Linked DNA regions of Homo sapiens: all the other regions are linked to region 3. Evidence: promoter capture Hi-C in human tissues and cell types (Jung and others, 2019). All regions are on one chromosome and are shown on one strand. Each heading gives the region's core, a stretch centred on a gene start or on the middle of the fragment in contact. The rest is flanking DNA. Distances are from core to core; before and after follow the strand shown. Region 1 overlaps SLC31A1 (solute carrier family 31 member 1). Region 2 overlaps CDC26 (cell division cycle 26). Region 3 holds the start of RNF183 (ring finger protein 183).

Region 1 (4,527 bases), core at 959-3,458, 53 kb after region 3:
AAAAAAGCAGGACTATAGTACCACAAACTATCTAAAAGTTGTAACCTTGATGATTTCCTTGATGAACCTTTATAACATTAATTATTACCATGAACTAATTTTGAAGACCCACAGGTTCTTAATTATTCAGGTCCCTCATTATCAATTAGAGAAATCTACTCAATGATGCCACATTATCAAATCTCTTCAGACATATCAGTGACCCAGGGCAAGGTATATACAAATCCCAAGAAAACCTTTCAAAGTATGCACCTGTTTTGAAGTGTCATTTGTGCAGGATATATTTCACATCCAAATATACTAGGAGATAGAACAAGAGCAGAATCTACTTGCTCTCATTGTCAGTAGACAATGGATATATTGTAATGGAATCCTATGCAAGGCTTACCGAATGGTGTATGAATAGGAAGATACAAAGCCGGTGGAGATTAATATATAAACATACACTGTAGGCTCAAACACAAACCAATCCTGATAAGTCCTTACGCTCACTAAAAGCTTTATTTTAGGAAAAGATCCCACGGGAATATGCCAAAGCTAAATTACATCAAAAAAGTTAAAACTTACAAATTAATTATTAAAGCATAATAAATAAAAGTGATTATATTTTTTTCTCTTCCCACTTAAATTTTCAGTGATGTGCTGTATGTATTTGGATAAGTTATCTTCTAAAGCAATCGAACACACCTAACCCATTCTCTCTAGAATAGAAATTCAACTTACAGGAGGTAAACTAGCATTGGTTCTTTTTAGCCTGTTTCCTTTGGTAGCTTTAATCTGACTTAAGCTCAGCTTCTTCCAAAATAAAAATGGGTACTCATGTAACAATAAGTTAAAATCCAGGGTCATACAATCTTTGCTCTATTTTTATTTTTTATTTTTTATTTTTTTAGATAGAGTCTCACTCTGTCACCCAGGCTAGAGTGCAGTGGTGCCATCTTGGCTCACTGCAACATCCACCTCTCAGGTTCAAGCGATTCTCCAGCCTCAGCCTCCCTAGTAGCTGGGATTACAGGCATGTGCCACCATGCCCAGCTAATTTTTTATTTTTAGTGGAGATGAGGTTTCACCATGTTGGCAAGGCTGGTGTTGAACTCCTGACCTCAAATGATCTGCCCACCTTGGCCTCCCAAAGTGCTGGCATAACAGGCATGAACCACCATGCCAGGCCAAATTTACAAATTATTTGTAAAGAAGAATACTGTCTAAATCTGTTTTGTGTGGCTATAACAGAATACCTCAGGCTGGGTAATTTATAAAGAAAAGAGGTTTATTTGCCTCATGATTCTGGTGACTGGACAGTCCAAGAGCATGGTGCCAGCATCTTTGGGGCTTCTGGCAGAGAAGCAGAAAGGCAAGTGGGCATGTGCAAAGAGACACGGGCTCACTTTATAGCAACCCAATCTTGCAGGAACGAATCCATTCCTATGAGAGCAATAACTCACTCACTCCTGAGAGTGGACATTAATTTACTCATGAGGGTGGATCCCTAATGACCCAAATGCCTACCAGTTCTCACCACCATTACAAATACTAACCAAAAAAATCTGAATATATAACTCAGGGACAGAACTGAAATACAAACAATAAAAAAACCCTTAGGATTCCTTTTTTTTTTTTGAAGTTTTTTTTTTTTATACTTTAAGTTTTAGGGTACATGTGCACAATGTGCAGGTTAGTTACATATGTATACATGTGCCATGCTGGTGCACTGCACCCACTAACTTGTCATCTAGCATTAGGTATATCTCCCAGTGCTATCCCTCCCCCCTCCCCCAACCCCACAACAGTCCCCAGAGTGTGATGTTCCCCTTCCTGTGTCCATGTGTTCTCATTGTTCAATTCCCACCTATAAGTGAGAATATGCGGTGTTTGGTTTTTTGTTCTTGCGATAGTTTACTGAGAATGATGATTTCCAATTCCATCCATGTCCCTACAAAGGACATGAACTCATCATTTTTTATGGCTGCATAGTATTCCATGGTGTATATGTGCCACATTTTCTTAATCCAGTCTATCATTTTTGGACATTTGGGTTGGTTCCAAGTCTTTGCTATTGTGAATAATGCCGCAATAAACATATGTGTGCATGTGTCTTTATAGCAGCATGATTTATAGTCCTTTGGGTATATACCCAGTAATGGGATGGCTGGGTCAAATGGTATTTCTAGTTCTAGATCCCTGAGGAATCGCCACACTGACTTCCACAATGGTTGAACTAGTTTACAGTCCCACCAACAGTGTAAAAGTGTTCCTATTTCTCCACATCCTCTCCAGCACCTGTTATTTCCTGACTTTTTAATGATTGCCATTCTAACTGGTGTGAAATGGTATCTCACTGTGGTTTTGATTTGCATTTCTCTGATGGCCAGTGATGGTGAGCATTTTTTCATGTGTTTTTTGGCTGCATAAATGTCTTCTTTTGAGAAGTGTCTGTTCATGTCCTTTGCCCACTTTTTGATGGGGTTGTCTGTTTTTTTTCTTGTAAATTTGTTTGAGTTCATTGTAGATTCTGGATATTAGCCCTTTGTCAGATGAGTAGGTTGCGAAAATTTTCCTAACCTTTAATCTATGATAAAATCTACCTAAAATATTTTATTTACCAAGTTGAGCTTATAACTAGGGTAGAAAGATTAGAATTACTGTGGCCGGGTGTGGTGGCTCACGCCTGTAATCTCAGCACTTTGGGAGGCCAAGGTGGGTGGATCACCTGAGGTCAAGAGTTCGAGACCAGCCTAACCAACATAGTGAAACATCATCTCTACTAAAAATATAAAATTAGCTGGGCATGGTGGTGCGTGCCTGTAATCCCAACTACCTGGGAGGCTGAGGCAGGATAATTGCTTGAACCCGGGAGGTGGGGGTTGCAGTGAGGGAAGGTCCTGCCATTGCACTCCAGCCTGGGCAATGAGAGCAAAACTCCATCTCAAAAAAAATAAAAAAATAAAAAAAAAACAAAGAAAGATTAGAATTACTGTACTGCCCTTTCATTTACTTTTTTTTTTTTTTTTTTGCCAATTGAGGTATACTAGTTTTCTTTAACAGAATTCAAAATCGTTCAATACTGGAGAATCATCTTTGCAATACTGGAGAATCACCTTTGCATTAGAATAACGGAGTGACAGGACTTAACTACCTAACTGGAACACATCTGTAAAAAGAATTTGGAAGGTGAAGGTGAATTTTAAAAGAAAAAGAAGGTGATCTGATTGTATGTCCTGGGAAAGTTACTTAGCCTTTCTGGAGCTGGTTTCCAGCCTGTACAACTTGGAGGATTCTTGGGAGGATTATATGAGATAACATACATAAAGCATCTACCAAAGTACCTGATAAATGGCAGCTATTATCATTATGTGGAATATTAGGGGATAAAAGAACTTGAGTAGGGAAAATCCAATGAGTGAACTTTGTGGGAGAAGGCATTAATCAAAATATTAGCTGGGTTTCTCTCCTCACTTGACTTTATTAAGACAACCCTTGACTTGTCTGTTAGCTTCTCTCCTACAAAGTATTTGCGTCAAGACTACTTTCAAGCCTGCGCACAGTGGCTCATGCCTATAATCCCAGCACTTTGGGAGGCCAAGGTGGGAGGATCACTTGAGGTCAGGAGTTTGAGACCAGCCTGGCCAACATAGTGAAACCCCATCTCTACTAAAAAATTACAAAATTACAAAAATTAGCCGGGTGTGGTGGCGGGCACCTGTAATCCTAGCTACTTGGGAGGCTGAGGCAAGAGAATCACTTGAACCTGGGAGGCCATGTTGCAGTGAGCTGAGACTGCACCATTGCACTCCAGCCTGGGCAACAAGAGCAAAACTCTGTTTCAAAAAAAAAAAAAAAAAAAAAAAAGGACTGCTTTCAAGTATCTTTCTGCCTGTCCTGATTTCCTGAGACCATGAAGTGGCTATGAACACTCATGTGAATAGTTCATAAGAGCTCTTCCTTCTAGCACAGAAATCTTGGATTTTTGTTTGTTTGTTTGTTTGTTTTTTGAGACAGAGTCTCTGTCACCCAGGCTGGAGTGCAGTGGCACAATCTCAGCTCATTGCAACCTCCGCCTCCTGAGTTCAAGTGATTCTCCTGCCTAAGCCTCCCAAGTAGCCGGGACTACAGGTGCACACCACCACACCTGGCTAATTTTTTTGTTGTATTTTTAGCAGAAACGGGGTTTCGCCATGTTGGCCAGGCTGCTCTGGAACTCCTGACCTCAGGTGATCTGCCTGCCTCAGCCTCCCAAAATGCTGGGATTACAGGCGTGAGCCACCATGCCTGGCCATCTTCTTGGATCATTAAGGAAGATGAGAAATGGTCTAGGAATTGACTATTTTAAAAAATTAAGCAGGAGTTTATGTGGAATTTAGTTCACATAAAATAGTTAATAAAAGGAGTTTCTTTCTCAGGAAGGCTTTAAACTATTCAGTTTCTAGGGAACATTTATCTTCAGTTAGGTACCTGAAGTTGGCTATGTGCCAACTTGTTTCTATTGTTCTGAATGCTATTAAATATAGGAAACAGTAAATGCTATAT
Region 2 (4,580 bases), core at 851-3,350, 33 kb after region 3:
TAAATTCAAATAAATTTTTAATATTTCCATTCACTTTAGTATACATGCTTGCAAATTGATTTTATGTTTTGTATCTGAGACTTTATCACCTTCAGATTTTCCTCCTCTCTTTCATTTTTAACAGCTAATAGTTCACTGGGTTTGGCCCTTAGTGTTGACTTCAGTATGCTGAGACGGAAACCAACACGCCTAGAGCTAAAGCTTGATGACATTGAAGAGTTTGAGAACATTCGAAAGGACCTGGAGGTATGAATACAACTTTGTGTTTTTTTGAGATGGAGTCTCGCTCTGTCACACAGGCTGGAGTACAGTGGCATGATCTTGGCCCACTGCAACCTCTGCCTCCTCTGCCTCAGCCTCCCGCGTGCTGGGACCACAGGTTCATGCCAGCACGCCCAGCTCATTTTTTTATTTTTAGTAGAGTTGGGGTTTTGCCATGTTGGGGCCAGGCTAGTCTCAACTCCTGACCTCAAGTGATCCATCCACCTCAGCCTCCCAAAGTGCTGGGATTACACGCGTGAGCCACTGCACCCAGCCATGAATACAACTTTCAAAGCTTAAGGAATATTTAAGATAATAATTCTTGTGTGGGCACAGTGGCTTACATCTGTAATGCCAGCATTTTCTGGCCAGGAGTTTGAGACCAGCCTGGGCAACATAGTGAGACCTTGTCTCTATGTTGGGCAGGGTGGCGCATGCCTGAGCTACTCAGGAGGCGGAGGCGGGAGGATTGCTTGAGCCCAGGAGTTTGAGGTTACAGTGTGCTATGATGGCTCCACTGTACTCCACACTGGGCAACAGTGAGACTCTCTGTCATACATAAATATGTATATACACACACATACATACACAATAACTTTAACTTCTGAACTGCAGACTCTTAAGCCAACAGCTTATTTGAAATCTCTGTTTGGATGCTTTACAGGCATCTCAAACTTCATGTATGTCTCCTGTGGCTGCTGTAACAAAGTACCACAAACTTCATCGCTTAAGACAACAGAAATTTATTATTTCACAGTTTTATAGGCCAAAAATTAGTATTGCTGGGCTGAAATTTAGGTGTCAGGAGGGCCACATTCCCTATGGAGGATCTAGGGAAGAATCCATTCCTTGGCTCTTCTAGCTTCTGGTGGCTGCTGGCATTCCTTGACTCATGACTGTATCACTCCAGTCTCTGCCTCCAGAGTCATATTGTCTTCTTTTCTGTCTGTGAAAACTTCCTCTGCCTCCTTCTTATGATATGTGTGATTGTGTTTAGGGCCCACCTGACTAACCCAGGATAATCCCCCCTTCTCAAGATCCTTAATTTAGTCACACCTGCAAAGGCCCTTTTCCCATATAAGGCATTTATAGGTTCCAGGATTAGGACCTGCTAGCTTTGGGGGCCATTTTTCAGCCTACTACACTTAACATGTTAAAAAAAGAAGAGAGAAAAACTCTTGATTTCTCCCTTGAACCAGTCGTCCCTTCCATTCTTCCCCAGTGTTTCCCATCTCAGTATTGATTCAGTTCCTCAGGCCAGAAACCTAGCAGTCATTCCTGAGTCCTCCCTTTCTCTTACGCTTTATATTCGATCTGTCTGTAGACCCTTTGATTCTACCTTCAGAATATGTCTGGAATCCACCCATACCTTTTCATCTCCACTGTTACAGTCCTGCGCTAAGTAACCGTCTTTCCCTGTATAATTGTAGTGGCATCCTAACTGGTCTTCTACTTCCATTTTTGTCTCTTTCAGTGCATTCTGCATCCAGTATCAAGAATGATCTTCAGAAATTTTCAAATCCTGTCATTCCCGTTTAAAACTCCTCAGTAGTTTTCTGCACTTATAACAAAATCTGAATTCTTCACCATGGCCTACAAGATTTTGTATGTTCTAGTGCCTCTCCAGATTCATTTTGTGCCATTCTTTGCCTTGCTCTCTATACCCTAGCCACATTGGCTCTCTTTCATTTCCTTGAACATGCCAATCTATTTATCACTTCCATGGACTTTCCACATATTATTTCCCCCTGCCTGGAGTGCTCCCTTTCTTCCAGTCTTCATTCAAATGTCAACTCTTCAATTTAAGAGGCCACTTTTGACCGTATCCAAGTTTCATGTGTCATTCCCGTCCATGCTGCCTCCATCTCTGTAGGCTCTCACAAAGCACCATATTTTTTTCATAGCATTTATTATAATTTACAATTTTTTTTATTGTAAAATCATTTACATTAGGGACGTTGATTGCAGAAATCATGTCTGTTTGCTTCACCATTGAGTTCTTACCATCTAGTTCATAGTAGGGGCCCCATATGTATTTTTAACTGTGGCCTTGCTACATGGTATTAGATGTCCATTAATAAGACTTAAATTCTTCAGTGGTCTACAGAATAAATTCCAAATTCCCTAGCATGGCATATGAGCTCCTTGTGAGCTGGTCCTTGCTTATCTCTCCACTTTCACTGCTGGGTTATCTTTAATCTCAGTGCCTATACACAGTGTTCCCTTTGCCAGAAAAGCCCTTTCTTTTTCTTTGCCAGGCTAACTCTTACTCCTTCCAGCCCCCAGCTGGGTTAGGCTCAACCTTATCCTCCTGTGCTAACCTCTCTCATAGGCACGGTCACTCTCTGTTGTAATTGTCTGTTTGCTTTTGTTTTCCCTCACTGGGCCATAAGCTCCTTGAAGTCAGGGATTAGTATATTTCTCTCTGCATCTGTTCCCTGCAATACCAGGTCCAAAGGAGGGCTCAATGCAAGTCTATTTTCATTTGCTGTCCTAGTAGGTATCTTGTACTATATGGCAGAGGACAGTACGTTTTGCATATATTCACCAACAGCTTTATTATGTATTGTATATGCTTCATATTAAGACTAATAACTTAGATTTCTTTCCCCCTGCTTCATCCCAAGAGACTTTAGTGTTCTCTAAGTATCGTAATTTTTGCTTTCTAAAAACTCATATATTATTAAGCATGAGCTTTAAAGTATGGCTTAAACTTCAGTTGTAACGAATCTCATAAAATGCTAGCATGCTGAACTTTGACTCTACAGTCAGCTCACTATTGAGTTAGTCTTTCCACTAAAGACAGTTATCTAGTGGGTTTTACCTTGTTTTAGAGTAACTTAGGAAGCAGGGACAGTCATGCCCTAAAGTGAAACCAGTAGAAAACTGGCCTGTTTCATTTATTACCAACATGAGTTTGATTATACTACTGTGACTCTAGCTTCTGAAACAGCAGTTGCTCAAAGTGGGAAGCCTTTTAAGTGATTTCATTCCATTTGGATATTCTCAGAATGATAGAGTTGTTTGCCTTTTCGAACTTGTTTTCACAAAGGTATTTAGGTAGAACTTTCTAACATCACTTACTAGTAATCAGGAAGGTCATTTGCCACATAAAAGGCAATACCTTATTTTATTCCCTGTAATACTTTGTGAGTGTTGGCATTTATTTTTTTTTTTTATTTTTATTGTTGAGACAGGGTCTTGCTCTGTCGCCCTGGCTGGAGTACAGTGGCATGATCACAGCTCACTGCAGCCTTGACCTGCCAGGCTCAGGTGATCCTACCACATCAGGCCCCCTGAATAACTGGGAATACAGGCATGCGCCACCATGCCTGGCTAATTTTTAAATTTTTTTGTGGGCCGGGTGCGGTGGCTCATGCCTGTAAACCCCAGCACCTTGAGAGGCCGAGGCAGGCGGATCACGAGGTCAAGAGATTGAGACCATCCTAGCTAACATGTTGAAACCCTGTCTCTACTAAAAGTGCAAAAATTAGCCAGGTGTGCTGGCATGCGCCTGTAGTCCCAACTACTTGAGAGGCTGAGGCAGGAGAATCGCTTGAACCCAGGAGGCGGAGGTTGCAGTGAGCCAAGATGGCGCCACTACACTCCAGCCTGGCAACAGACAGAGACTCAGTCTAAAGAAAAAAAAAAAATTGTGGAGACAGATGGAGTGTCACTATGTTGCCCAGGCTAGTGTCACACTCCTGGGCTCAAGCAATCCTCCGCCTTGGCCTCCCAAAGCACTGGGATTTACAGGCATGAGCCACTGCGGTCAGCCTGATGCTTGGCATTTAAATGCCCACAGTTCAGCAGCAAGTGGTGAAGAATGGTGGTAATTCCAGTGATTTGAGTAGCTGAGCCATTCTTCTATTAAGTAACTTTGGATAAAACATCATTTCACTCTCTTAGAGAAAGTTATCATCTGTTATCCTTACAGTCAGGTAGTGGCTGTTATGGGATAAGTGTCTGTTTTTGAAAATGATCAAACTAAGACATACTTTCTGGATTCTGCAGTCACATGTGACTTAGGAGCCAAACCTTTTATCTGAAAACAAAATGAAGCCACAAAACCCAGACCTTTTGATAAGATAGCATAAAACCTTCTTGAGTTACTTTTAATCTCATGGGATCAGTCAGGCTATAGATTTTTGGTGGTTATTTCTTTACCCAATTTATTTTTCTATTCTCTAGAATAATAAATTTGTTGAAATGCCCTTTGCTCTCACTTGTCTGCTCTTACAGCTTTCCAATTGTAGCTTCCTGTTGTACCACCACACCCCAACTCCTTACCTCTTGTCTCTTTGGCAGTGTAGACTTCT
Region 3 (4,562 bases), core at 30-2,529:
ATATTACCTATTTAAAAATCAAATGTGGGCACGGTGGCTCAAGTGTAATCTTAGCACTTTTGGCAAGTGGATTGCTGGAGCCCAGGAGTTTGAGACCAGCCTAGGCAACCTGGAGAAACCCCATCTCTACAAGAAATACAAAAATTAGCCAGCCACGGTGGCATGCACCTGTAGTCCTAGGTACTCAGGAGGCGGAGGTGGGAAGACTGCTTGACCCCAGGAGGTTGAGGCTGCAGTGAGCTGTGATCGTGCCACCGCACCCCAGCCTGGATGATAGAGTGAGACTCTGTCTCAAAATAAATCAATACATAAAAATTAATGTAAAAAAACACAAAATGCGGGGACTAGGGCATTTGATTACATCACCAAGCAGATACATTTATTTACTTGTTTATTTCTCAAGTATGGCTGAAAATGTCAGTAAAGAAATAAGGGGCCAGGCGCGGTGGCTCATGCCTGTAATCTCAGCACTTTGGGAGGTCGAGGCAGGTGGATCACCTGAGGTCAGGAGTTTGAGACCAGCCTGGCCAACAAGGCGAAATCCTGTCTCTACTAAGAATGTAAAAATTAGCCGGGCATGGTAGCGCGCACCTGTAGTCCCAGTTACTCGGGAGGCCGTGGCAGGAGAATTGCTGGAACCAGGGAGGTGGGGGTTACAGTGAGCCAGTATCGCCCCACTGCACTCTAGCCTGGGCGACAGAGCAAAACTACGTCTTAAAAAAAAAAAAAAAAAAGAAAGAAAAAAAAAAAGAAAGAAAGAGAGAGAGAAAGAAAAGAGGACCATAGGTACAAAAAGAATTTGAGCGGGAACAAAAGATGGGCCACGTGAACAGACCGGTTATAACAATAATAGTTCTGGTTAACATTTAGCGAGTTACTGTCTGCCAGGCCCTGTGTTATTACGCGATCTCGACACGTATTACCTCATTTAATCTACAGATCAAGTAGGTAGGTTATTATGGCCATTTTCAGGTGAGGAAACTGAGGCTGGCAGAAGTTAATTAATTTGCTCAAGTCTCCATCGGTAGTTAAACGGAGTTTGGATTCTCAGTGAGGGCTGAACTCTGACCTAGAAGTGTGCCTTGCTTGAGAACCCTGGCTCTTCAGGCAGACGCTCAACCGTCTCCCGACTATTTTTCTGCTGTATTAGTGGCCGCTTTTGTCAGTATTTTGCAAGAGCTATCTGTATTTTGGTTACAGGGACTCAGCATAGGGAAGGATCCATCTCGGCAGAAGCCAGGAGTCGAGGCAGGTCAGCGCACAGAGGACAGTGGAATCCGAGGGGATGGCAGGAGATCAATCGGACCCAGAACAGAGGCCTGCAAGGATGAGCGCACTTGATCCCCTCAGAGAAAAAGCCAGAGTGACTCACAGGAGAAAGACAAAGCAACCAAAGCTTCCAGGGTGTACAGGAGGTCCAAAGTCACCAGAAGGAAGAAGAAAACCTGAAACAGCGAGAGCTGGCCAAACGCTGCTAAGACCTATGCAAATAAGACCCACCCACGCTACCTGGAAATCGGGCCTGGGAAGTCAGAAAACAAAGCACATGCGTGCAGGGCTGCACGAACGGAGGCGGAGGAGGCGGCTCCGAGGGAGCAGGTAAGGAGACAGAGAGGGTCGCGGAGGGACGGGTCACAGGGCTCCAGAGTCCAGAGAGGCAGCAGCCGTGCAGCGCGCGACAGGTGAACTCTGGCCTGGGAGGGCAGGCTACTGGGTTCATCTTTCAAACTCAGCCACTCTTTAGCTGGGAAGACTTCGGCAAGTTGCCTCACCCTTCTGAGCCTTGGCTTCCCCATCTAGAAAATGGGTCTAAAAATAATCATGCTAACTCTGTATTGAGCGCCTTCCGTATTCTACTGGGCACCGTATAGACTATTCCTTCCCCAGAGCAACCTTGTAGGAGTGGGATGATTAGCCTTTTTTACAGAGGAAAATGAAGTTCAGAGAGGTTAAGCCATTTGTCCAAGACAAATTGTTCCAAATCTGGTTCCAAAGCCGGCACCTTTCTACTCCCCATTCAGCCTCTCTCACAGGGTGGTTTTAGAGTATCAAATGGCTTTCTGCAAACAACAACAAAAAATCCCAAAAGGCTAGTAACCTATCTAGATGGATCACCACACTTAGATCTTAGCAAGGGCCAGGGCCCTTTGTAAACTGTGAAGTGCTATGGAAATGCCAGTTCTTGGTTGAAAACAATGGAGTGATGCTGGGGACAATTGATATTTGGCGATGACTTGTTCATAGACCAAGGAGATGACTTTGGGGCGGTGTTTAGGATTTACTGTAGCTGAGATGTCCTGGCTTGGGGTGGAGGTGATACATGGCCAGAATCTCTCCCCAGCTGATCCTGAAACAGCAGTGGATCCCTGGGAGAGCAGCACAGATAAAGATCCAGGCAATAATGATGCTTCCTCCTCTTGGACAGCCTTTTACAGTTCTGGCCATGGAACTTCAGAGAAGGTAGGTCTGATTTGGGGGGAAACAGGAGATCTTGACGTGTAGTAATACAAGCTTACTGGATGGAGTAAAGTTAGAATTTTCAGGTAAGAGAATTAAAAAAAAAAAAAAAACTTATAATCTTGCCCCCAGAGATAACCACTGCTAATATCTGGTTGTTTATCTCTCCAGACATTTTTTCCATTGCACACACACTTTTGGAAATTGGATTATATGGTAATATGGTTTTGTTGCTGGTTCTTTTTCGCTTAATGACATTATATCCTAGGTATATATCCATATTAATAGTTTTACCACATCATATTAAAGGCTGCATAATATCTCTTCCTATGGATGGAGCAGAATCTACTTAATCAATGTCCTATTACTGGATGATGACGTAGTTCTCCATACGTCACCGTTAAACCAGCGCCTGGATGGGCATCTCTTTACTCACATCTTTGCAGAAGTCCTTGATGGTTTCCGTGGAATCGATTCCCAGTGGGGGAAATGATGAGTCAAGGTTACATACAGTTTACGGCCTCTGGTAAGTATTAAAGATCTGCTTCTAACACACTCTGGGATTCAGGGGCTTCTCAAAGCTTGATGCAGAGGACTTTGTCACGGCTTTGAAATCAACCTTGACCCTTCCTTTCTCTCAAATCCATTTGCATTAATAATTTCAACTGCCTCATATATCCATAACAATGTTTTGATCAACAGTGAATTACATATGTGATGGTGGCCACCTAAGATTATAATACCATATATTTACCTTGCCTTTTCTAAGTTTATGTTGAAAGACACACGCAATTATCATTGTGTTACAATTGCCTACAGTGTTCAGAACATAATAAGCTGTATGGGTTTGTAGCCTAGGAGCAACAGGCTAGACCGTATAGCCTAGGCATGTAGCAGGCTCTACCATCTAGGTTTGTGTAAATACTCTCTGTGCTGTTCATACAACGATGTGTTTCTGAGAACATAGTCCCATTTTTAGGTCATGCATTGCTTTGTGGTCTTTACTGGGTGCTGGGCTCTAACTAAAAGCTTTACTAGTTTTGGCTTCCTTTGCACAAGGAGAAATAGAGGCACAGAGAGGTCAAGCAATTCAACTGGAATCACAGCCCTAAATAGCCATGGATCTGGCATCATGAACCTTGACAGAAACTACAACTGGATCCCTAGAACTCCACTGCTTCTTGGGAAGTGGCTTTGATTCTGTCCCCAAAGATATCACTTATCCCATCCCCTTTTATCTCCTCTGCCACTGCCTAACCTGCACCACCATCACACGCCTGAGCCACACTGCTGCAGCCCGAACGGGTGTTCCCTTCCCGATCTTATCCCTCTCAGCCTGTCCTCTGCTCTGCAGCTAGAATGGTGTTTTAAAAATGGAAATAGGATCAGGTACCTTACCCTACCGCTCACCCCTGGAATAAAATCCAGATGAGCTCCTGAGTTCACAGGTCCCGAGTACTATACCCTCCCACCTTGCCTACTCCGGTCACCACACCTTGATCACCCTGGGCTCCTTTCACTTTCTCAAATTGGAAGAGCTTTTCTCACCTCGGGGCCACACATGCTGTTCCCTGGGCCTGCAACGCTCTTCCTCCACTGTGCGTGGCTGGATTCCTATATACTTTGGTCTCAGCTCTTCTGTCATCTCTTTGCAGAAACCTTCTCTGGTGGTCTCATTGGGAGCAGCCACCAAGCACCCGAAGCCCATTTTCCTTTTTGCCCTTTATTAACAACCATTAAAATTGTGTATTTATTTATTGCCCATTATTCATTAAATGTCTTTTTGCCTCACTACACTCTAAATGTCATGAGGTCAAAGACAATGTCTATTTTGTTCACCATAATACCTTGCACAGCACCTGGGCTAGAGTAAGCACTCAATAATGTCCGAGTGGATGAATGGACTGCAGAATAAAGCACTGGTGCAGAGCCCTGCTAAACTACCCTAGTTTCGCTTAGGGCTCCATCTCCCTCTGCATATCTTCATTTCCTCCTTCCCTGTTTGGAGCAGTGCCAGAGGTCTAGAAGAAAACCAGGAAGCCACAGGTCCGAGAGTATAAGCAGGTTTTGCTTCAGACATCGGCTCAGTCGGGGTAGATGATGTC

Evidence for each region. Contacts are between HindIII fragments. The study calls those that stand out against the background at their distance.
Region 1: a contact is called between a fragment that was not itself captured here and the fragment with the promoter of RNF183 in region 3, in 4 of the 25 tissues and cell types used here (aorta, liver, ovary and 1 more).
Region 2: a contact is called between a fragment that was not itself captured here and the fragment with the promoter of RNF183 in region 3, in 1 of the 25 tissues and cell types used here (liver).

The regions. Positions count from the first base shown.
Region 1 is chr9:113,247,785-113,252,311 of GRCh38, reverse strand. All of the region lies in intron 1 of SLC31A1 (solute carrier family 31 member 1), which reads right to left. The region is part of intron 1 of LOC107987119 (a long non-coding RNA gene); the gene reads left to right. Among named protein-coding and RNA genes, the nearest start is that of CDC26, 26 kb to the left of the region's middle. The HindIII fragment of the contact is 7,964 bases long and covers 1-4,527 here.
Region 2 is chr9:113,268,093-113,272,672 of GRCh38, reverse strand. It overlaps CDC26 (cell division cycle 26), which reads left to right. Exons shown (of 4, transcript NM_139286.4): 3 at 125-246. The coding sequence starts at 166. Among named protein-coding and RNA genes, the nearest start is that of CDC26, 5.2 kb to the left of the region's middle. The HindIII fragment of the contact is 5,691 bases long and covers 1-4,580 here.
Region 3 is chr9:113,300,093-113,304,654 of GRCh38, reverse strand. It overlaps RNF183 (ring finger protein 183), which reads left to right and starts at 1,279. Exons shown (of 5, transcript NM_001371237.1): 1 at 1,279-1,599; 2 at 2,342-2,460; 3 at 2,904-2,983. The HindIII fragment of the contact is 15,296 bases long and covers 1-1,954 here.